4 separate regions of the Homo sapiens genome follow, and regions 1, 3 and 4 are each linked to region 2. The links are contacts of gene promoters, found by promoter capture Hi-C in blood cells and fetal thymus (Javierre and others, 2016). All regions are on one chromosome and are shown on one strand. The core of a region is centred on a gene start or on the middle of the fragment in contact, and the rest is flanking DNA. Distances in the headings are between cores, read along the strand shown.

Region 1 (4,867 bases), core at 1,935-4,434, 570 kb after region 2:
TATCACTGTCATTTCATTAGCATACAAAAAACCATTTATCACTTTGGAGATTCCCAGGGTTTTAGGAGCTGTGTGCCAGAATACTGGGACTAAGACTATCTATACATACTGCATATCTTATTATACATCACAGTGTCATACCATCTTTCCAAACCTAAAATAAGAACACAGATAAACCTAAAGAATTGTCATCCAACCAGGTGCAATGGCTCATGCCTGTAATCCCAGCATTTTGGAAGGCTGAGGTGGGAGGATTGCTTGAGCCCAGGAGTTTGAGACCAGCCTGGGCAACATAGTGAGACCCCATCTCTACAAAAACTAAAAAATTAGCTGGGCATGGTGGCACATACCTGTAGTCCCAGCTACTTGGGAGGCTGAGGCAGGAGGATCACTTGAGACCTGGAGGCTGAAGCTATAGTGAATCCAGATGGCACCACCTCAGCCCATCCTTGGCAACAGAGTCAGACCATGTTCCTTTAAAGAAGAAGAATATGTCATCCAAAAGACCACCAGGATGGCTAAATAGTAGAAAGGAGAGCTATATTGGTGATTTCAGTTTGCACAGCGGGAAGAGACAGTCTCCAGCTTATGCCAAAAGTGCTCTCTTCCCAGAGGGAAAAGGGCAGATTGGTTTTTATGCCTCACAGGGCCTGTATCACACAATAGAGTAAAACATATTCAGCAGTTTTGGGAGAAAAGTTATACATATCTATGAGGGAAGTTGAACACACGTGCAATGGATAAACATATGTAACACAAATCCCACGTTCACTTTGGGGTAAGGTTTTAACATTAAAATAAGGTGGAACTTGGCCCTTCATGTCAAAAGGTGAACTATTGGACACAAAGTTTGCATGCAGTCTCTATAAACTGGCTGACACTGGCTCGAGGTCTTCGGTTGCTTATCAGGAAAGAATTTTTGTAAGGCTGGTCCTTTGTCCAATCAGAGCTATAGTGGTTTGGATTGTAAATCAGGTTTGGTAAGGTTCTGACAATTTTCCCAATAGCTCCTATTTTTAGCAAATTTAGCAAGATTGTGTTTTTTCTTGTAGCCTTAGGAATTTGCGAAGTTCCCATGCCAACCAAGCCCTGAACCCTCCACCCATAGGTAACTTTCGTTTTCTTAACTTTAGGGTTCTTCTTAGTTGATAAAGGAGCATCCATTTTGGTCTTCCAGATAACAGAACACAATCTGACAGGGCAATTATGTGACTAAAATAATGAAATATTAAAAACTGAATTTTCCACAGAAAATCTGGTATATTCATTGGCTAAATCTATGATTACTCTTCCTAGAACTCCTACCTTTAGCCTCATTTCTCTGATATGCTGTTTTTCTGACTCATATTAACCACAACGAGGATTAACTTCTTCAAATTTAGACTAACACTTGATATTATTTGCATTGGCAACCTAATATTTGTCACTACAGTAAATACCTGATATGGTTTGGCTCTGTGTCCCCACCTAAGTCTCAGGTTGAACTGTAATCCCCAGGCTTGGGGGTGGGGCTTTGTGGGAGGTGATTGGATCATGGGTGTGGTTTCTAATGGTTTAGCACTATCCCCCTGGTGCTACCTCGTGATAGAGTTCTCCCAAGATCTGCTTGTTTGAAAGCGCCTCCCACTTCACCCTCTCTTTGTCACCTGCTGGCCATGTGAAGATGTGCCTGCCTCCCCTTTGCAGTGGCTCATGCCTGGAATCCCAGCACTTTGGGAGGCCGAGGTGGGCAGATCACGAGGTCAGGAGATCGAGACCATCCTGGCTAACATGGTGAAACCCCATCTCTACTAAAAATACAAAAAATTAGCCAGGTGTGGTGGTGGGCACCTGTAGTCCCAGCTACTAGGGAGGTTAAGGCAGGAGAATGGAGTGAACCTGGGAGGTGGAGCTTGCAGTGAGCCGAGATCGCGCCACTGCACTCCAGCCTGGGCGACAGAGTGAGACTCCGTCTTAAAAAAAAAATTTTTTTTTCTTTCTTTTTCCTTTTTTTTTTTTTTTTTTTGAGAGAGGGTATGGCTCTGTTACCCAGGCTAGAGTGCAATGGCATGATCTCAGCTCACTGCAACCTCTGCCTCCCAGGCTCAAACCATCCTCCCACCTTAGCCTCCAGAGTAGCTGGGACTACAGGCACATGCCACACCCAGCTAATTTTTATTTTATTTTATTTTATTTTTTTATTTTAGAGGCAGGGTTTCATCACATTGCCCAGCCTGGTCTCGAACTCCTGGACTCAAGTGCTCCTCCCACTTCAGCCTCCCAAAATTCTGGGTACAGACATGAGCCACTGTTCCCATCCTGCCTGCTTCCCTTTGCCTTTGCCCCATGATTGTAAGTTTCCTGAGGCCTCCCCAGAAGCAGAAGCCTGTATAACCTGCAGAATCATGAGCCCATTAAACCTTTTTTATAAATTACCCTGTCTCAGGTATGTCTTTACAGCATGCGAGAACAGACTGATACAACACCGAAATGCAGATTTCCATTTGCTTTTGGTTTTAAAGCTCAGCTTCCTTTTAGTTTACCTGTAAAGCCTCTGTGTGGCCTAATCTTTCATTCAGTAGCAATTTACTATTACATACTATACTAGGTGCTCTGGTACATGCTGTAGTGGTATTAGTATATAGTAGTATGTACTCTACTGGTATATATGGTACATATTGTACTGGTACATACTGTGCCAGGTACTAGGAATACAAAGATGAATAAGACATAGTCCCTGACCTGGAAGAGCTTGGTCTAGTGGGGACACTGACATGCATAGAGGAGAAGACCAAGCTTCCCTTTCACTCTTTCTGAAGGCTCATTGAAAATAAACTGACAAAAAGCAGACTAACAGGAGAAAACGGCATACAAACTTTATTTAGTGTGCATAAGCATGAGGGAACCTCAGGAGAATGACTACTCAATAATCCAATGAGGTCCAGATGTTTATATACCCTTCTTCATAGAGGAAGGGGAGATGGTGGGCACGGGGGTATAGGAGTAAAAGATTTTTAGGGAAAATGAATGAGCTCCAAGAACAATGGCCTGGAAGAAAGTTATTTTGAACTCTGGGGGAGGTGGCAGGAAGATGAGGGGCAGAACTTTACTGTGAGCAAAGGTTATCTTACATAGATAATGTCTCCCAGGTAATCCTCGTGGAGCTGCACTCACAAGAATAAATGAAAAATCCAGATCGGGCACGGTGGCTCATGCCTGTAATTCCAGCACTTTGGGAGGCCGAGGCGGGTGGATCACCTGAGGTCAGGAGTTTGAGACCAGCCTGGCCAACATGGAGAAACCCCATCTTTACTAAAAATACAAAAATTAACCAGGCATGGTGGCAGGCACCTGTAATTTCAGCTACTCCGGAGGCTGAGGCAGAAGAATCACTTGAACGTGGGAGGCAGAAGTTGCAGTGAGCTGAGATCATGCCACTGCACTCCAGCCTGGGTGACAGAGTGAGACTCTGTCTCAAAAAAAAAAAAAAAAAAGCCTGCCTGGACATGGTGACAACTCCCAGTGTCATCTTTTTGGTGGTTAACCTGTTCTGGTTATTTGATGAGATTCCTAGAGAGGGGATTCACTGCTTTTTTTTTTTTTTTTTTTGGAAAGAAGCTTCCCTGCTCACAAAAGGAAGTTCCAGAGTCCTTCCAGAAGCTTCAGAAAAGGAAGAAGATCAGAGAGATGGGGAAGCTGAGGAAGGTCAGAGAGATCCCTTGGTTCTGAGGCTTATTTCTGAGACCTTTTAATATTCCTTAATTCAAAACATTCAGCATGCCAAAGTGCTATATTTTACAATTTTGTTTTCTAAGCCCCAACTCAGGTGAAAAAATAATTGAAATAAAATAGAATAAATCCTATCAGTATTGCCCTATATTGTTTTTTGTTTGTTTTTTGTCTTTTGAGATGGAGTCTTACTCCATTGCCCAGGCTGGAGTGCAATGGTGCAATCCTGGCTCACTGCAATCTCCGCCTCCCAGGTTCAAGTGATCCTCCTGTCTTGGCCTCTGGAGTAGCTGGGACTACAGGCATACACCACCAGGCCCAGCTAATTTTTGTATTTTTAGTGGAGACGGGGTTTTGCCATGTTGGCCAGGCTGGTCTCGAACTCCTGACCTCAGGTAATCCGCCTGCCTCAGCCTCCCAAAGTGCTTGGATTACAGGCGTGAGCCACTGCACCCGGCCAGTATTGCCCTATATTGTACTGTACACTGTTAAATTAAGTTTAGCCTAAAAGCTGCCTCCTTACATATTTTAAGTTTGGCCTAAAAGTTTCTCCATACCTAGTGAAATGTAATCTAACTGGATGTGTAAATGGACTTGTGAAAGGAAAATAAATCTTGGAACCCCAAAATCACTAAGCCAAAAGAAAAGTCAAGCTGGGAACTATGTCAGACACCTGCCTCCCATTTTATTCCTAAATAAGACAGCTACAAAGAGAAGAAGCTATATACCTCCCTCACAATTGTCCACAATACCTTGTGGACAAAGGACAGACAGAACTCAAAGTCATCCCTCTGAGGCTCACCTGAGACAAATGCATATCTGATTGTTTTCTCTGCCCTATTGTTTATGTAAAAACAATATGCACAGTCACTGAGCCAGACTAAATTGTGTATTCAGTGGAAGGCTGATCAAGGACTCAAAAGAATGCAACCTTTTCCTTTTATCTCTTATCTACTTCTAACCTGGAAGTCCCCACATAGAGTTGTCCTGCCTTATCTGAGGGAACCAATGTGTATCTTACACAGATTAATTGATGTCTCATGTCTCCCTAAAATGTATAAAACCAACGTGTGCTCTGATCATCCTGGGCACATGTTGTCAGGACCTCCTGAGGCTATGTCACAGTGCATCCTTAACCTTGGCAAATTAAACTTTCTAA
Region 2 (5,118 bases), core at 2,017-4,516:
ACAAACAACTCTCATTATGTTCTCATTCTGTCTCCTAGCTTTAAATACTATCTATATGCTGATAACATCCAAATTTACATTTCCAGACCAGACCTTTCACTAATGCTAGACATAAAATCCAATTGCCTACTTGACATGTGCACTTTGATATCTAATGGACATCTCAAACTTAACATGCCCCAAACTGAACTGGTCTTCACCAGCAAGCCTGCTATTCCTGCAACTTTACCCATTTGTATTAGTTATCTATTGCTGTATAACAATTTATGGCTATTGTCCGGAGCCCTCAGTTTTGTGCAACATGGAGCTTTCCTTAGGGCTGCTTGAGTCTCCTCACAACATGACAGCTGGCTTCCCTTCAAGTGAGTGATTCAAAAAGAGAAGGCAAGGAGGAAGGCACAATGCACTTTATTATCTAGTATTGAAGTCATACATCATCACTTCTACCATAATCTATTCATTAGACACAAGTTACTAAGTCCAGCCCCCACTTGAAGAGAAGGAAATTAAGTTTCTCCTACTTAAGAGAAAAACATCAAAGACTCTGTAGGTATATTACAAAACCACCATAATATCCCAGTTAATAACAATTTCATTCTTCTAGATACTCAGGTCCCTGGAGTCTTCCATGTCTCCTCCGTTTTACTCTCTAACCCTCACCCATTCTGTCAGGAAATCACACTGGTTCTTTCAAAATATACCTAGAGACTAACTATGTCTATTCACCTCCACTGCCACTACCATACTGCTCTGAAGGACACCCATATCTTTCCTGAATTACTGAAATATTCTTCTGCTTTTACTTTTGCCCCCTTACAGTTTATTCGTCACATGGCAGTCAATGCAATCCTTTTAAAACAAGGCAGATCATGACACTCCTCTGTTCAAACCCTGCATTGTTCTCCCCTTCCCTCAGGGTAAAAGTCACAGTTTACATTACCTACAAGACCCTACATAATTTGGCCCCATCGCCACCTCCATCACTCTGCTTCAGCCACTTTGTCCTCCTTGCTATTCCTTTAGTTATTCTTTCTGCCTGGAGTAGTCGTTCCCCAGATATCCATTTGGCTAATTTCCTTACCTCTTCCAGGTCTTTACTCAAATTGTACCTTTTCAATAAGGCCCATCCCAACCATTTTATAAAATACTGTAAACTGCCTAGCCCCCACCCTCATTCCTGATTTCCCTTACCCTGCTCTTGTTTTCCATAGCACTTTTCACCTAACATACTATATAATTAACTGGTTATTGTCTTTACTGCTTACTCTCTGCTTCCCATTACTAAATACAAGCTCCATTAAGAACAGGAATTTTTATCTGTTTTGCTCACGATGTATCTCAAGTGCCTAGGGGAAGCTCAATGAATATGTGTTGAATTAATGAAAATATAAAACTTAAAAAAACTGAAATAATTTGAAACTTTTTTTCAGTTAAAGAAAATGTACATGCTGAACATCTTTCCACATCACTTTTAATGGTAGGCAATGTAAAACTATACCACAATTTAACCAATTTCCTTTCATTGTACTTTAGTTAACAGCTTTTCTCTATATACTATAATGAAAACCTCTTGATATAAGTATGGGTTACATTACTTATTTCCTCGGGAAATATTCTGAAGGAGAATTGCTGGGTCAAACGATAAGCACTTTTTTTTTTTGAGACAGAGTCTCGCTCTGTTGCCCAGGCTGGAGTGCAGTGGCACGATCTCGGCTCACGGCAAGCTCCGCCTCCCGGGTTCACGCCATTCTCCTGCCTCAGCCACCCGAGTAGCTGGGACTACAGGCGCCCGCCACCACGCCCGGCTAATTTTTTGTGTTTTTAGTAGAGACGGGGTTTCACCGTGTTAGCCAGGATGGTCTCCATCTCCTGACCTTGTGATGATCCGGCCGCCTCAGCCTCCCAAAGTGCTGGGATTACAGGCGTGAGCCACCGCGCCAGGCCGATATGTACATTTTTAAGGCTAAATATATTATCCCTTTCCTGCCAGCAATGCATGAGAATACCCATTTCTCCATATCCTCACTAAGACAGGTTATTAATGAATGAAACCTGAGTTCACATTTGGGTTCTGCCATTAATAAGCTTAAAATTACTGTATCTATAAAATGGAAATCATGATAGCACCTATCTCAGTTGCTGTGAGGATTAAAGACAATGCATAGGTAAAGCACTTAGCACAGTGTTTGCACACAGTAAGCACGCAATAAAATGTTAAGTTTATTGTTTCTACCATTATTACGGCCTGAAAACAATTCCATTGCAAAGTGCCCTGCAGGCTATTAGAGGAATAACAACAACCTATCAGTTACTTATAATACGGTATTTTTTAAAGTTCAACGGTTTTCTTGAAGATTCCATTTAGATTTAATTTTTTAATTACATTTAATCAGCATCGAATGAAAAATACTCCCAAGTACAGTACGTATAACTGGGAGAGCGATCATTTTACCACCCTGATCCTTACTTTTTTATTTTGGACAGCGGGAAACCGTAAACAAACACGCCCTGTCGCCAAGAAACAAGATGGGAGGAAAGCAGCAAAAAACAAACAAACTTTGCCAAGTGAGCAAGCTACAGGTATCTCCTGTTCATTCTGGTCAGCACGACCTGTTCGAAACTCTGGGATAACAAGGAGTAAAATGAGGATTCATCTGGAGATTCCGAATGGGGCTGCAGCATTTGAAAAGCAGAACAATGATAACTTCCTTAAAGCATCATTGGGAAAAAAACCGTGAGTCACGGCGCAGGCTCTTGCGTCTTTGACGTGTACCCACAGGGCCCCGCCCCACTCAACACACACACTCACCCACACGCGCGCGCGCAAACACACACACACATATTTTAACGCCCTATTCAGGCCTGGGCTTCGTCTGACCAAGTTCTCGGGGTCAGATAACCGGTTCCTTTGCGGATGCTGACCACGGGGTCAGTTAGCAATCGGGCCTCAACTCAGGCCAAGCGCGGGGCCCCTGGAGGTGTGGGCGCACCCGACTCCCGCACAGACCCCCGCCCACGTCAGCCCCGGCTCCCTGCCCACGCACAACACCGACCTAGCTCCTCGCGCCTCGCCGCCCCGGCAGCCGCCGGCGTCGCCGCCGCTTCCATCTCTCGCGGGTCTCCAGGACGCCGCCGCCCGAGTGCTCACTCTCCCGCCGCTGCGTGGCCGGCGTCAGGCCCAGGCCTACCTCCCCTGCCCGGAGGGACCCGCGCCTGGTGCCCGCCTCCCTGCCCCGGCGCTCCCCAACCGCGCGGCGAGGAGCATGCGCAGTGGGACAGCCCGGCTCGGCGGGCACCGCCGGCGAGGGGCGGGAGGGGCCGAAGACCCGAGGACTGCTGCGAGGCCGGGTTGGGTAACCCGAGAGGAGGGTTGGGTAACCTGAGATCAGCGAGGGTGGGACCTTAGAGCTAGCCGAGACCCGGGCCCATAGCTCCCTGGGGGTTTTAAAGATGACGGCGAACTTAAATTTGGGGCGCCTGTCCGTATGCAAGGCGTTAGCGTTCTGTAAGTCACCTTGGAGAATGCGAAGAAGGACGGGATTTGTCCCCTACCCATGCTGAGGTTCTGACTACTCTGGTTATTCGTCTCCCTGTTTCTATAGTTAGAGTTACAGGAGACACTTAAATAGAATTTAATTAAGTCATATACAATTTCACTTTCAGGATATTTCAATGTCCTTCCAGATATTTGACGTTGACCGTGGTGCTGAAAGAAAATTAAGGTAAAGACTAAGTGTACTGATGTAGTTTCAAGTACTCCTAAGCACCATACATACATTATCTTTAATTCTGACTACAATTTGTGAGATAATTCTAATATTTACATTAACGCTAAAGATGAAGGGATTAAGGCACGGAGGTAAGTAACGTGTCTGGGGACAGGAAGCTTGTACATGGCAGAAGTAGAATCCTTCTGCCTTCAGAGCTGGAGCTCTCGAAAAATATGCAAAGCTGGCCTCCCAGATGGGTACCAATGAATATTCGATGAATCAATGGATGAAGCAAGCTTTTGGTTTAAAAGGAAAATATTTATTTTAATTTTAAAATCGCTTTCTTTTTTTTTTCACTTCATAGTTCTTGGAAGTCAGTACACCAGACAATCCTTTTTATTTGTGTCCGTTTCATTCAGTGGGGTTGCTTTAGGAAAGGGTTTTTTTGGGGGGGAGTGGGTCTGATTAACAGTCACTGATGTAACTATATGGCAATGGTGTTAAATATTTAAAATTCTGAGATTAAAAAGGTACGCAGTTACATACTATCTACATCTTTCCTCCTGTTGCATCCTCTGTAGGCTTTCACTAGATAACTAGTGATAATGACAGTTTGCCAACCCCCTTTCTTTTCCTTTAAGTGAACCCAATTTGTTCACATACATACACATGCAAATCCCAAAAGAAGGTTTTATTTGAAGTGTTCCTGACAAATAAAGGGGTAAAGGAGATTTTTTTTAAAAAAGAAGAAGAAGAAGAAATCTATTCTGGAACATAGCTAGAGCAATGTTCCCTAACCTGTGTTGGGGTGGATCACCTGGTTAAAGATCAGCAGGAGAGAAGATAGGCATCAGACAGAAATTATAGGACCAAGGTAATTTTCCATAAACCACTCATTATAATGAGAACATGTGGGACAGCATCTTAAAAGAACATTATCCTTTGAGAGTTAAAAGGGATCAAAAGTCATTGTCCCCTAATCTCAGCTTCAGGGAAAGCAGATCTGGCAATATGGAAGGAAGAAAAGTTTGACTTGTAGTATAGGCCTGAAATCTTTTGAAGAGGGTTGGGCTGAGGTAGGAGGCCCAATGTCTTTACAGTGATGTGGAGATAAAGCAAGTGATAACAATGATCATAAGATTCAAGAGAAATATGTTTTTCATGCATCTCTACTTGAGAACATATTTACTAGGACTTCTACTCCAGGTCTTATAAATTAGAAGCAGATATAAAGTACAGCTGTATCAAAATAGAGACATTATACAGAATGTGACAATTTGAACCCTGGAAATTCATTTCTTTTCCTGACTTTAACTTCTTGCATCACATCTTAACTACTTCCTTCTTTGCAACTGCAGCACTTTGTTCGTATCTCTGTTACAACACTTCTCCACTTATAATTATTCCT
Region 3 (5,418 bases), core at 648-3,147, 930 kb after region 2:
AAGGGACCTAATCTAGTCTGTCTACTTAGGGAAGGCTTTCCCAGGGAAGTGACATCAAGCTGAGGCCAGAAGGGTGAATAAAGGTGGGCCAGGCAAAGAGGCCACTGTGGGGAGTGTTTTGGGTGGGAAGGCCTGGAGGAGGCCAAGGGCTTAGCTAACTTGAAGAACTGAAAGGAAAGCAGTGAAGCTGGTGGTGAGGTAGGCAGAGGCCATGCTAAGAAATTTGTATTTTATGCTAAAAACAATGTACACTTTAAGTAGAAAAGATGATCCGACTGGAGTTTTGAAAAGCTCATCCTGGCAGCTGTAGAGGAGAATGGAGGGGGACCCTGTCTCACATATTTCCTATATGTGGTTAGGAGACAGGATGGTGAGTTGAATTGGGTATTGGCAGTGCAGGTGGAGGGGTGTCAGATTTGCTATATTTAGGAGAGAGAAGCAAGAGAATTTGAAAATTGGTTATGGCAGCTGTGAGAAATGGAGTGTTGAAGATGGTGCTCCAGGATTCCGACTTGGGTGCACAGGTGGCTGGTGGTACATTTAGTAAGATGGGGAAGATGGAGTTCAGGTTTAAGGGGAAGATGAAGACTGAAGTCCTGGCCGTTATGAGTTTGAAGCCCTATGAGCCATCTACGCGGAGAGAGCTGTATACGCTCTTGGATGTGTGTTTAGCGGCCAGGCTGGGGTGGAGAGGTACATGTGGGAGTTGAGGCTTGTATCTGTGGACCCACAGAGAAGGGAGCCAAGCCCTGCCCCAAGGAGCCCTCATGTTTGCAGGTCCTGCCTGCTTCAAATGTTACTGGTGATAACCTACATGTCACATTTGACAGGGCTTCCAAACTAAGCCATCTAAGAAAGGTCTTATGATTCATGGCTTAGATCCTGTCCCTGAGTAAAAAATCTTACTGTGAGTCCTTCAAATCCTTTTGTCAGTTCCTCAAACTGCTGATGTACTGATTAGTATGTAAAATACTGACATTGAAAAGAACACTGACTTGTTTCTGAATCATATAAACTTTGATTTTCTTGTGCACAAAACATTTTAGCCTGTATGTTGTCATCTGCAGCCAGTGACTGTAACCTGTGTACCATACCCTCCGATGAAAAAAATCCCACCTCTGATATAAGGGGTCCTCCTCCCTTTTCCTAAACTTTCTTCTAAAACCCTTCCAACGTGTAACAAATTTTGAAACATGCCCAACTTTGCTGGTAAGTCTTCTTGGGTGGATCCTCACATTTAGCTTCCAATAAATCAAATTATTTCTACTTCAACAGCCTTAATTTCCGTGGACACTGGTCAGAGTATTTCCTCCTGTCTTTCCATCATCCACTTCCTATGAGCTGTTCAGAAGCAGCTCTCTGCAGCCCCAACACCCACCTACCTGCAGGCCCCCCTCTCTCTGCTGGCTCCCGGAACAAGGCTCTGATTGGGATGGCAGAGGAAAGAGAAACGGGACCAGCAGCGCTACTCAGGCCTCGAAACTCCACACTCACTACCGTTTCCGCGCCACCCTCTCACGCGGAGCTCCTGGAAGGGTCCAGCGCTCCCTCTGCAAGGCACCGTCGGTCTACACCGCTCGATTGGCCTTTTATGGCACTGACTGTTCTTTGAAGCTTTTGCAGCTCCTTCTAACCCGATTTCACCGTGTTGGAAATGTTGGGGGTGGGGCGTAAAGGGGGCCATCCCATCCACAGAAAGAGTCGCTTGCAGAAATGATTTTAAAACTCCCGGGTGCCAGGACGTGAGGAGAATCCGGCAGGGAGGGACGGGAGAATTTCCAAAGGTGCCGCTCAGTGGGAAAATCCCTTTGTCAGAGAGTGGCCCGAGGGGCGCGGAATGCAGCCGCGCCCACCCCGCCCCGCGTCACCGCGTCTTCCGGAAGCTCCACGCCCCTGGGTACTTGGTTTCCCCGCATGGTTCCGGAAGAGCGCGGCGCAGCTGGCTGTGAGCGCAGGGCTATCCCGGCGGCCGCTTCGGCAGCCAGGGCGGCGCGGAGGGGCAGGGCCAGAGGGAAGCGCTTTGTTCCGCGCGTGGTTCCCGCGCCTGGGGGTGCGCGGGAGAGGCGCGAATCCGAGTGCCGCGCGCGGCCCGGGGACTTGCACGGGCGTGCGGGGTGGAACCGCAGGAAGCGGAGCTCTCGGGTTCCCGCCCCGCCCCGCCCCGCCGGCGGCGGAGGCAGCGAGCGCGAGAGCCCAGCGGAGTCGCTGGGAGCCTGAGGCACCGAGACACAAAGGCAGGCGGGATGCGGGAGCAGGCAAAGGGAAAGCGAAAGCCGCGCGCCCGGCCGGTGACTGGGTGAAGGCGCCGCGCAGCTTTCCCGACGCCGGCTGTACCCGGACCTCCTGGTCGAGCCTGGCGCGCCGCAGCCATGGCCATCGCTCAACTGGCCACGGAGTACGTGTTCTCGGATTTCTTGCTGAAGGAGCCCACGGAGCCCAAGTTCAAGGGGCTGCGACTGGAGCTGGCTGTGGACAAGATGGTCACGTGCATTGCGGTGGGGCTGCCCCTGCTGCTCATCTCGCTGGCCTTCGCGCAGGAGATCTCGATTGGTAAGCCTCGCCCAGGACGGAGGGGAGTGGCCGCCCCGGTCTGGCCCGGTGAGCTGCGATTTTACGGCTCACAGGCCCGAGTCTGGGTACGCCCAGCTGTGATGGTCGTGAGCGTCAGGAAGGGCAGTGGCCCCAGTTTTATGGTCCAAAGCGTTCTTTGCCCAGGTGTTTCATTGGTACCCTGGTCTACTCTGCTCGCATCCCTACTCCTCAGTTCTTTTGTTCCTCATGCCCCTCTGATCGGACTGTGGCTTATAGTTTATGTTCCACCCTTAGAACTGGCACCTTGCCACCAGATTTGCCAAGAATAGCTGTGTCCCCGTTTTTCACCCCTGTCTCCTACATATTTGTCCAGCCGCCTAAAATTTTACACCAGAGAAGTTCCTGAGTGGCTACATGGAGGATGTGAAGACCGGTGCTCCATGAGAAGTGTGTTCTTTCAGTGTCTTACATATAATTGGTATTTGCTGAGATCTTAGCTCTCTAGGGTTGTGAATGATAGGAAATATCTGCACTTGGCAGGCATTAGAGGGATCCTCAACTTGGACGGTCTTACAAATGTGAGATGAACAAGTCCCCTTCCTGTAAATTATCATTTGAGCTTCATAACAGTTGTGTGAGATTGGAAAGTCTGGTGGTTTGGGCAGGATCACGTGGCTACGTGCCTTACCTTCCTCATCAGCTGTTCTGACTCTCCACACAGGAGAGAGTGTTTATGAACCAACAGGAAGGTAGCGCAGGAGGGTTAAATACAGTTCTGTGGCAGGGGAAGAGAGAGGACCCAGTGCGGCTGGACTTTGGGAAAACTTTTGTCAGAGGGTGGGTGGGATTTGGACAAGAAGGAGTAAGACCTTTGTTAAGGTTTTGAGATGGCAGAGAATGTTATATGTTCCTGGAAAGAGAGACACAGTGACTCTCCTAGCCAAGGCAGGAGGATAAGTCAGAGTTCCTGGAGTCTGAGAGTGAATATGGGCCTGGGTCAGCCTGGAACAGAAGAGTGTAGGCTGATGGTTTCAGAACTGTGAAGTTATTGTTTGAGCAGAGGACAGACTGGTTGAATGATGGTGGCATTTAGGGTCTGGGAAGAAGGTGAGAGGATGGGGCCTGGAGGGCTGGGTGCCAGAGAGCAAGGCATCGGCTGAGGTCTTGTGCACAGAGGGTGTGAAGAGTGGAAGAAAATGGGTGGGTGATTGCTGTGCGATCAAGGAGTAAATAAGCAGCACTTGAGTACCTAGTATTTAATAGGCCATGAACGGCAGTACTGGTCAAACGTGCTGCGGAGGTTGTATGTCTGGGTGAGTGGAGTGTGGTGTTGGTGGTGATGGGAATTGTGAAGTTGAGGGAATAGTTGATTAGGAAAGAATGACTATGAGTGTGATTTTGCAATCTGCAGCACTAAGTTGTTCAGCTTGGCAGGAAGTTGCCAAATTCATTGTGGAAAATAGTTTTTAGTTTTCCTGCTCTTTGCGCAGGCATAGTCATCGGGATGTTCTTTAAGTTTCCATTTGACAGTGGATTGAGGCTTCCAGCTGAAAGCAAAACCACCAAGTAGCATGAGTCCTGGAGATAATCTCTCCCTTTGGTCAATTCCTCCTTCAGTACTGGCTGTGTGCTGAACTCGGTGCTGACCTCCAAGGACCCGGGAGTAAAAGAGGCATGATCCCTGTCTTGGAGGTGCAAGTCTTGGGTACCTGGTTGGGACAGAAAGGCAGGAGGAAGGAGTTAGTCACCCTCTGTGACCAATCTCCACCTCTAGCACATGTACTAGAGGGACTCCTAAGGCACCTGTACCTGTAATGCCTTAGATACGTCTAAATTGGTGGGCTGTCTGAGAGGTATTTTTGGGGTATTGGGAGTGGTTTTAACTAGCAAGAGTTTGAGCTCATGCTGTGTGCATAGCACTGTTGTGTGCTGAGGGAGATGGGAAAGGATTTTGAGACCTTGTTCTTGCCCTGCCCTCTCCCTGCCCTGTGGCAGTTTACTATGCAGTTGGGCACTAGAAGGTATCTGTTAGCAGGTAAGTCATTCAGCTGTGTGTAATTCAGCACCCAGCCAGGTGTTGAGCTATGAGCTCCAGGCTGGTGAAGGTTGGCAGGCACTTGGGTGAGGAGCTGTCAAGCAGACTCCCATGTTTTCTGAAGTGTTTTCAGGAGTTCCAGGGGAGGACAGACATGTGGGATGAAGCTAACAGGACCAGGGAAGACCTATTAGATTAGGTATACATTTAGATAAAACCAGAAGAAGGGCTTTTGAGAAGAGGGGAGAGGTACATAGATTAATACATGGAGTTGGTACAGTGGGAGGGATCATGTCATGCAGCATTTAATTTTGTGTAGTTAGTAGTATGCACTCAGCCAAAAACAAACCAAAAAAAAGAACAGCAATAAAGGGAGAATGAAGTAATTGAAATGGAGCTGGCACTTTGCCCACCATATTGGCCAGTGAACTCAGGCCCCGGGAAGACACTGAGATAAGGCCTGCAGACTTAAAACATGGCTTCATCCTTCCTCTGTTGATAATTACTGCTTCCCTCTCTGGTGCTTGGAATACTCTTTTGTTGAACTTAACACAGAGCTTTATAACCTGTCTATGCATGTTTTGCATGGAGATTGAAACTACTCTATAAACATTTGTTGTGAATTAAAGGTGATAGCTTTTGGCATCATCAGACCTTGCTAATTGATTGTTATGTGCATGATGCTGTACCTTGGCAATGGGGTGTCAGACACACGTAGGACATAAGAATCTTTCCTCTGGAAGCACGGTCTAGTAGAGAAGTTGAACGCATAACCCTCCTAATGCAGGATTCATGGAACCTGGGCAGTGTCAGAAGTGTGTACTAAAGCCTGATGCTGTGGAAAGGCAGAA
Region 4 (5,335 bases), core at 1,494-3,993, 610 kb after region 2:
GGGCAAATGTTACACCATATTCAGTGATCTAGATGAGAGTCTTCAGTTGGCCAAATTTATGTCATATGTCTTTGCTTAAGCTGCCAGTGGGCAGGAGAAGCAAGTATCAGGCAACTTTAGCTTTGGCAGTGGAAGGTGGAGTCCTATTCCCTCCCCCTAAGTTACGCACAGGAGGATTCCTCAGACCTAAGATAGGGTTGCTGTAGTAGTCAGTGAGCACCCCAACAAAAGTTTACTTCATGGTCGTGATGTTAAGTCACTGCAGATATCTCTGCTGACTGTCAGTCAAGTGTCCTTTTTCATTCACAGATGTCACAGCACCAGGTACATGCAGTTCAGCAACTCGCCAAGGTTATGGGCTGGCAAGTACTGAGCTTCAGTAATCATGTGGGACTTGGACCTATAGAGAGCATTGGTAATGCATCTGCCATCACGGTGGCCTCCCCAAGTGGTGACTATGCTATTTCAGGTACTTTCTGCTGCTTTGAATGAGAAGGGACCATTGGGAGTTTGGCTTTAACATTTAGTTTTAATAATTAAATATGGGTAAGAGTAATTTATCTCTGCAATAAATTAGTTAATGTTGTATTTACACCGAATGTTTATTTGATCATAGCTATTATGCAGAGCAAGAGATTATTATTTCTCTTTCTAGTAATTATAATAAATGTTTAGATTGGCAGCACATTTTCCTGAGATAGTCTGAAAAGTATCATCAGCATTGTTACTCCTGCAGTCCCAAAGTTTAATGGATAAAAACTTTAAAAAAAATATATACTGCTGTAAACATGGGAAGAAAAATATCTGATCCTAAAAATAGTAAAGGGATGGAACAGAGAGGAATATCTAATGCAAGGTACTACTTTTTTCACATTAAAAAAATAGTAACAGTTTTTAAAATATTCTAAAATAAATAATTAAAAATAATTTTAAATAAAGTGTTTTGTTTTATTTTATCTATTTATTTATTTTTGAGACGGAGTCTCGCTCTTTCGCTCAGGCTGGAGTTCAGTGGCGTGATCTCAGCTCACTGCAACCTCTGCCTCCCAGTTTCAAGCGATTCTCCTGCCTCAGCCTCCCGAGTAGCTGGGACTACAGGTGCCCATCGTCATACCCAACTAATTTTTGTATTTTTAGTAGAGACGGGGTTTTGCCATGTTGGCCAGGCTGGTCTCAAACTCCTAACCTCAGATGATCTGCCTGCCTCGGCTAACCTCAGATGATCCGCCTGCCTCGGCCTCCCAAAGCGCTGGGATTACAGGCGTGAGCCACCGCACCCGGCCGAGGAGAAGTATTTTATTAAGCACCTTCTACGAGTGGGCACTTTAATAGGCACTTGTATGAGTATTACATAGCTTAAATTTACATTTGAAGCGCTTATGGTTTTAGTGTGATCTTTGTTTCTGATATCTGCTCTGACTACTTTAAAAATACAGTCATGTGTTGCATAATGACAGGGACAGGTTCTGAGAAATGTGTTGTTAAGAGGATTTCATCGTATGATAATAGAGTGCACTTACACAGCCCTAGATGGTACAGCCTACTACATGCACATCTAGGCTTCATGGCATAGCCTGTTGCTCCTAGGCTACAAACCTGTACAGCATGTTACTGTACTGAATACTATAGGCAGTTGTAACACAACAAAAGCAGTTGACTGAAATGTTACGCAGCTCATGACTGTATTTGAAAGAGTGGGTAGTTAGAAATATTTCCTCACAGGATCACAGCTTGTGAATCTGCAAGCTTGGTCATTGCTGGATCTTGATTGCTAGGAATTTCAAAATACCCTTTTCCTCTTTCCCAAATAATAGTTAAAACCTCATTAAAACCTGAAATTCTTAATTCAGAATAATCTTTCCTTCATCCCTTTCAGTCCTGATTTTAAGTGGTTGAGGTTTCTTTACATATTAGGCATGTATTAACAATTCATTGAATGATTGCCTTATCAAATGAATGTATTGAAAAAAATAGGTGAGTGTACTAGGCGTGGTGGCTCACGCCTGTAATCCCAGCACTTTGGGAGGCTGAGGTGGGAGGATTGCTTGAGCCCAGGAGTTTGAGACCAGCCCTGGCAACATAGAGAGACCTTGTCTTTAACCGCCTCCCAAAAAAAGCTTTGTGTTTTTCAGTGCTGCATGTGGAAACAAACAAAAAGATGATTTCCTGAAATTATAGAGGACATTTGACATTCCTAGGTCAAAACTCACCTTGCTTAATCTTTGTGGTACAAATAATAATTCATGAATATTTATACCATCCTCTTATATAGAAGTTAGAGTTTTTCTCTTGCATGTTGAAACTGAAAAAGCACTTTTTTACAAGAATATTTAAGTTGGTAGACAAAGTTTTTGTATTCACAGTAGAATGGAGTTGTGGGATTTATCCTTGTTATTTCTAGTTTGGTAAACTAGAGTGTATTGATATTTTGGTTTTTCTCCACAGTTCGTAATGGACCTGAAAGTGGCAGCAAGATTATGGTTCAGTTTCCTCGTAACCAATGTAAAGACCTTCCAAAAAGTGATGTTTTACAAGATAACAAATGGAGTCATCTTCGTGGGCCATTCAAAGAAGTTCAGTGGAATAAAATGGAAGGTCGAAATTTTGTTTATAAAATGGAGCTGCTTATGTCTGCACTTAGCCCTTGTCTACTATGATTTTTTCCAGATGTTTCCTAAAGAAGTTTCCAGAAACTTTGACTTGAAATGTTTGCAGATCAACTATAAGCACAAAGAAGAGATAACTTCCAAAAGAGTGCTGTTTTTAAAAATAATAATTAGGAAATGTTTATTTAGCACTTTCAAACTTTTCACTTTATAAATGACAAGTGCTTTGAAATGCAGAAGTTTATGTACAGTTGTATATACAGTATGACAAGATGTAAAATAATATGTTTTTCATGCAGTTTAAAATATTACTAACTTAAGGGTTTCTATGTGCTTTTTAAAATATTCCTTCTTTGATGTTGACATCAAATAAAGTATGTGGTTTAAAAAAATCTCCAAATACCTTTTTTTCCCCCCAAATACTTTCTAAACTTTTTTTTTTTGAGATGGTATCTCACTCTGTAGCCCAGTCTGGAGTGCAGTGGTGTGATCATGGTTCACTGCAGTCTTGACCTCCCAGGCTTAGGTGATCCTTCTGTCTCAGCCTTCCGAGTAGCTGGGACCACAGGCATGCACAACCACGCCTGGCTAATTTTTGTATTTTTTATAAAGACAGGGTTTTTCCATGTTGCCCAGGCTGGTTTCGAACTCGGCTCAAGTGATCTACCTGCCTCTGCCTCCCAAAGTGCTAGGATTACAGGCGTGAGCCACCATGCCCAGCCTACTCTAAATTATTGATAACCTCTTCCTCCAGTTGTCTCCTTTAAGCTTTCCTGGGTCTAACCTACATAGGTAATTTAAGAACATCCTCAGAAAGGACAGCTGAAGGCAATAGGAGGCAGATTATCTCTTTAGGGCGTCCTCAAGTTTTTTTGGTCTGTTCTCCCACTTGATTGACCTCACCAGTTGAGACACCTAGTGTATGGCTCATGCCCAGCCTTCCACCTGGGATTCTCCAGCCTCCACCCAGCAGCCCTGGATTGCTTTCTCCAATTAAGGCCTTTCCATCAGCTCTCTGCTTTTTCAAAGCGAAAAAACTAATGGATTAGTGGGTTATCTTTTCCAAGGAACAGGTTTGCACTTCTTGGAAAAAGTGCCTAAAGTGTGCCCATTAATATGAGGATAGATTTAGGCTCATAAGCCTTTTGGTAACACTGAAAGTAGTATCATATAGGCAAGCTCTCCTTATAAGTAAGGCTTTCAATTTTTAAAACAGACATCCTGCTTTAACAATTTGTAAGATGACTGTGCAGTAATAAAAGTCCTTTGTATTTCTCCACCGTGTTTTCATTAAAGAAAAATGGAGCTTGTGGGCCACGATAGAACAACTTTGTGCTTTTTTCCCCTTCTGATCAAGATCTTGCATCTTTCTATCCATGGAAATTAAAATAATTGGTATGAATTTGCAGTTATTTAAAAATCTTGAGTGCTTCAAAAATTATTGTTGCCTGCAAAATTTGCCTTGGTCAATAGGCTAATCTGCACAATTCCACTCACATAAGGAGTCTTTTATGTGATTTTGAAGGCTCAGGCTAGAAGAGTGAGTCTGAGACTTTTGCTGAATGACCAGTTTTTGTTTATATAAACTTCTCCCATTGCAGATTGATACTTTGGTAAACTAATAAAAATGAATTCCTAAAATGAAATTTTGAAAAGATACAAAATAAAAGCCCCATTTATTTGATTATAACTTGATTAAATTGCATCAAATACTAGAATTTATAGACAGAGTCTCACTCTGTTCCCCAGGCTGGAGTGCAGCAGCACTGTTTTGGCTCACTGCAACCTCTGCCTCCTGGGTTCAAATGACTCTCATGCCTCAGCCTCCCGAGTAACTGGGATTACAGGTGTGTGCCACCACGACCGTCTAATTTTTGTAATTTTGATAAGAGGGTTTTGCCATCTTGGCCAGGCTGGTCTTGAACTCCTGGCCTCAATTGATCCGCCCACCTCGGCCTCCCAAAGTGCTAGGATTACAGGCATAAGCCACAGTGCCCAGCCCCCCCAAATATAAACATTTCTGAATGCTTTATTTTTTATTTCTCTGCTTGTCATGAATCAGTAACAAATCATGGACCAGGACCACACCTTGAGTAGAATGGCTGAGAATACATGTGCAGATACTACCGTCTGTTCTTTTAAACCCCATCTGAGTAGAGTGGGATAACTGAAGACTTTACGTTCTTCATGTCTTACTTTCCCTGTTTGGTACGTCGCTGTAGTGAGTAGCCAGTACCGACCTAAAGAATTGTAGAAACTAAAGCAAATGTGTGGGAAAATGGTAGCTTAGTTGCTGTGGTAGCAATTCTTATGCCTTGTATTTATTTACATTTTCTAGTTTAATGTTTTAACCTGAATTTCCTGGAGTTTGAAGGATGTGCTATGGAAACTTGGGAGACAGTTTGAAGAAAACCAATTAGCCCCTCAACAAGTATTAACAGGTTGGCAAGGAGCTGTGTTTGAATCTTGGCTCTGCTACTGGCTTGCTGTATGAACTTGGCAAGGATTCTCTGTGAACTTGTTTCCTTATATATAAATGAAGATAGAGGTGCCTCCTCTACTAACCTCAGTGGTGATTGAGAAGTTTCAGTAACGTTGGTAATAAATGTTAAATTCTAAAGTACTACATAAATATAAAGCATTAAGCAAGTGTGCTTCTAAGAGTCAAGCCAATTAGAAAAAATGGTTGAGACACCAGCTGTATTTATTAGGAGAAAGCATTTCAGAAT

Evidence for each region. Contacts are between HindIII fragments. The CHiCAGO score rates a contact against its expected background, and 5 or more counts as called.
Region 1: a contact is called between a fragment that was not itself captured here and the fragment with the promoter of SLC36A4 in region 2, in 2 of 17 cell types (M0 macrophages and M2 macrophages). The highest score is 7.2, in M0 macrophages.
Region 3: the fragment with the promoter of PANX1 here is called in contact with the fragment with the promoter of SLC36A4 in region 2 in 13 of 17 cell types (total CD4 T cells, total CD8 T cells, activated CD4 T cells and 10 more); the score reaches 12.8 in total CD4 T cells.
Region 4: a contact is called between a fragment that was not itself captured here and the fragment with the promoter of SLC36A4 in region 2, in 1 of 17 cell types (M2 macrophages). The highest score is 5.8, in M2 macrophages.

Annotation. Positions count from the first base shown.
Region 1 is chr11:93,765,753-93,770,619 of GRCh38, forward strand. No RefSeq gene overlaps it. Among named protein-coding and RNA genes, the nearest start is that of MED17, 16 kb to the right of the region's middle. The HindIII fragment of the contact is 822 bases long and covers 2,774-3,595 here.
Region 2 is chr11:93,194,725-93,199,842 of GRCh38, forward strand. It overlaps SLC36A4 (solute carrier family 36 member 4), which reads right to left and starts at 3,267. Exons shown (of 11, transcript NM_152313.4): 1 at 3,054-3,267. The coding sequence starts at 3,108. RefSeq lists a silencer at 3,029-3,408. The HindIII fragment of the contact is 1,801 bases long and covers 2,084-3,884 here.
Region 3 is chr11:94,126,944-94,132,361 of GRCh38, forward strand. It overlaps PANX1 (pannexin 1), which reads left to right and starts at 1,898. Exons shown (of 5, transcript NM_015368.4): 1 at 1,898-2,550. The coding sequence starts at 2,370. RefSeq lists enhancers at 1,831-1,890, 2,211-2,470 and a silencer at 2,121-2,190. The HindIII fragment of the contact is 7,489 bases long and covers 1,613-5,418 here.
Region 4 is chr11:93,809,408-93,814,742 of GRCh38, forward strand. It overlaps MED17 (mediator complex subunit 17), which reads left to right. Exons shown (of 12, transcript NM_004268.5): 11 at 310-469; 12 at 2,446-5,335. The coding sequence ends at 2,657. Among named protein-coding and RNA genes, the nearest start is that of MED17, 28 kb to the left of the region's middle. The HindIII fragment of the contact is 1,257 bases long and covers 2,116-3,372 here.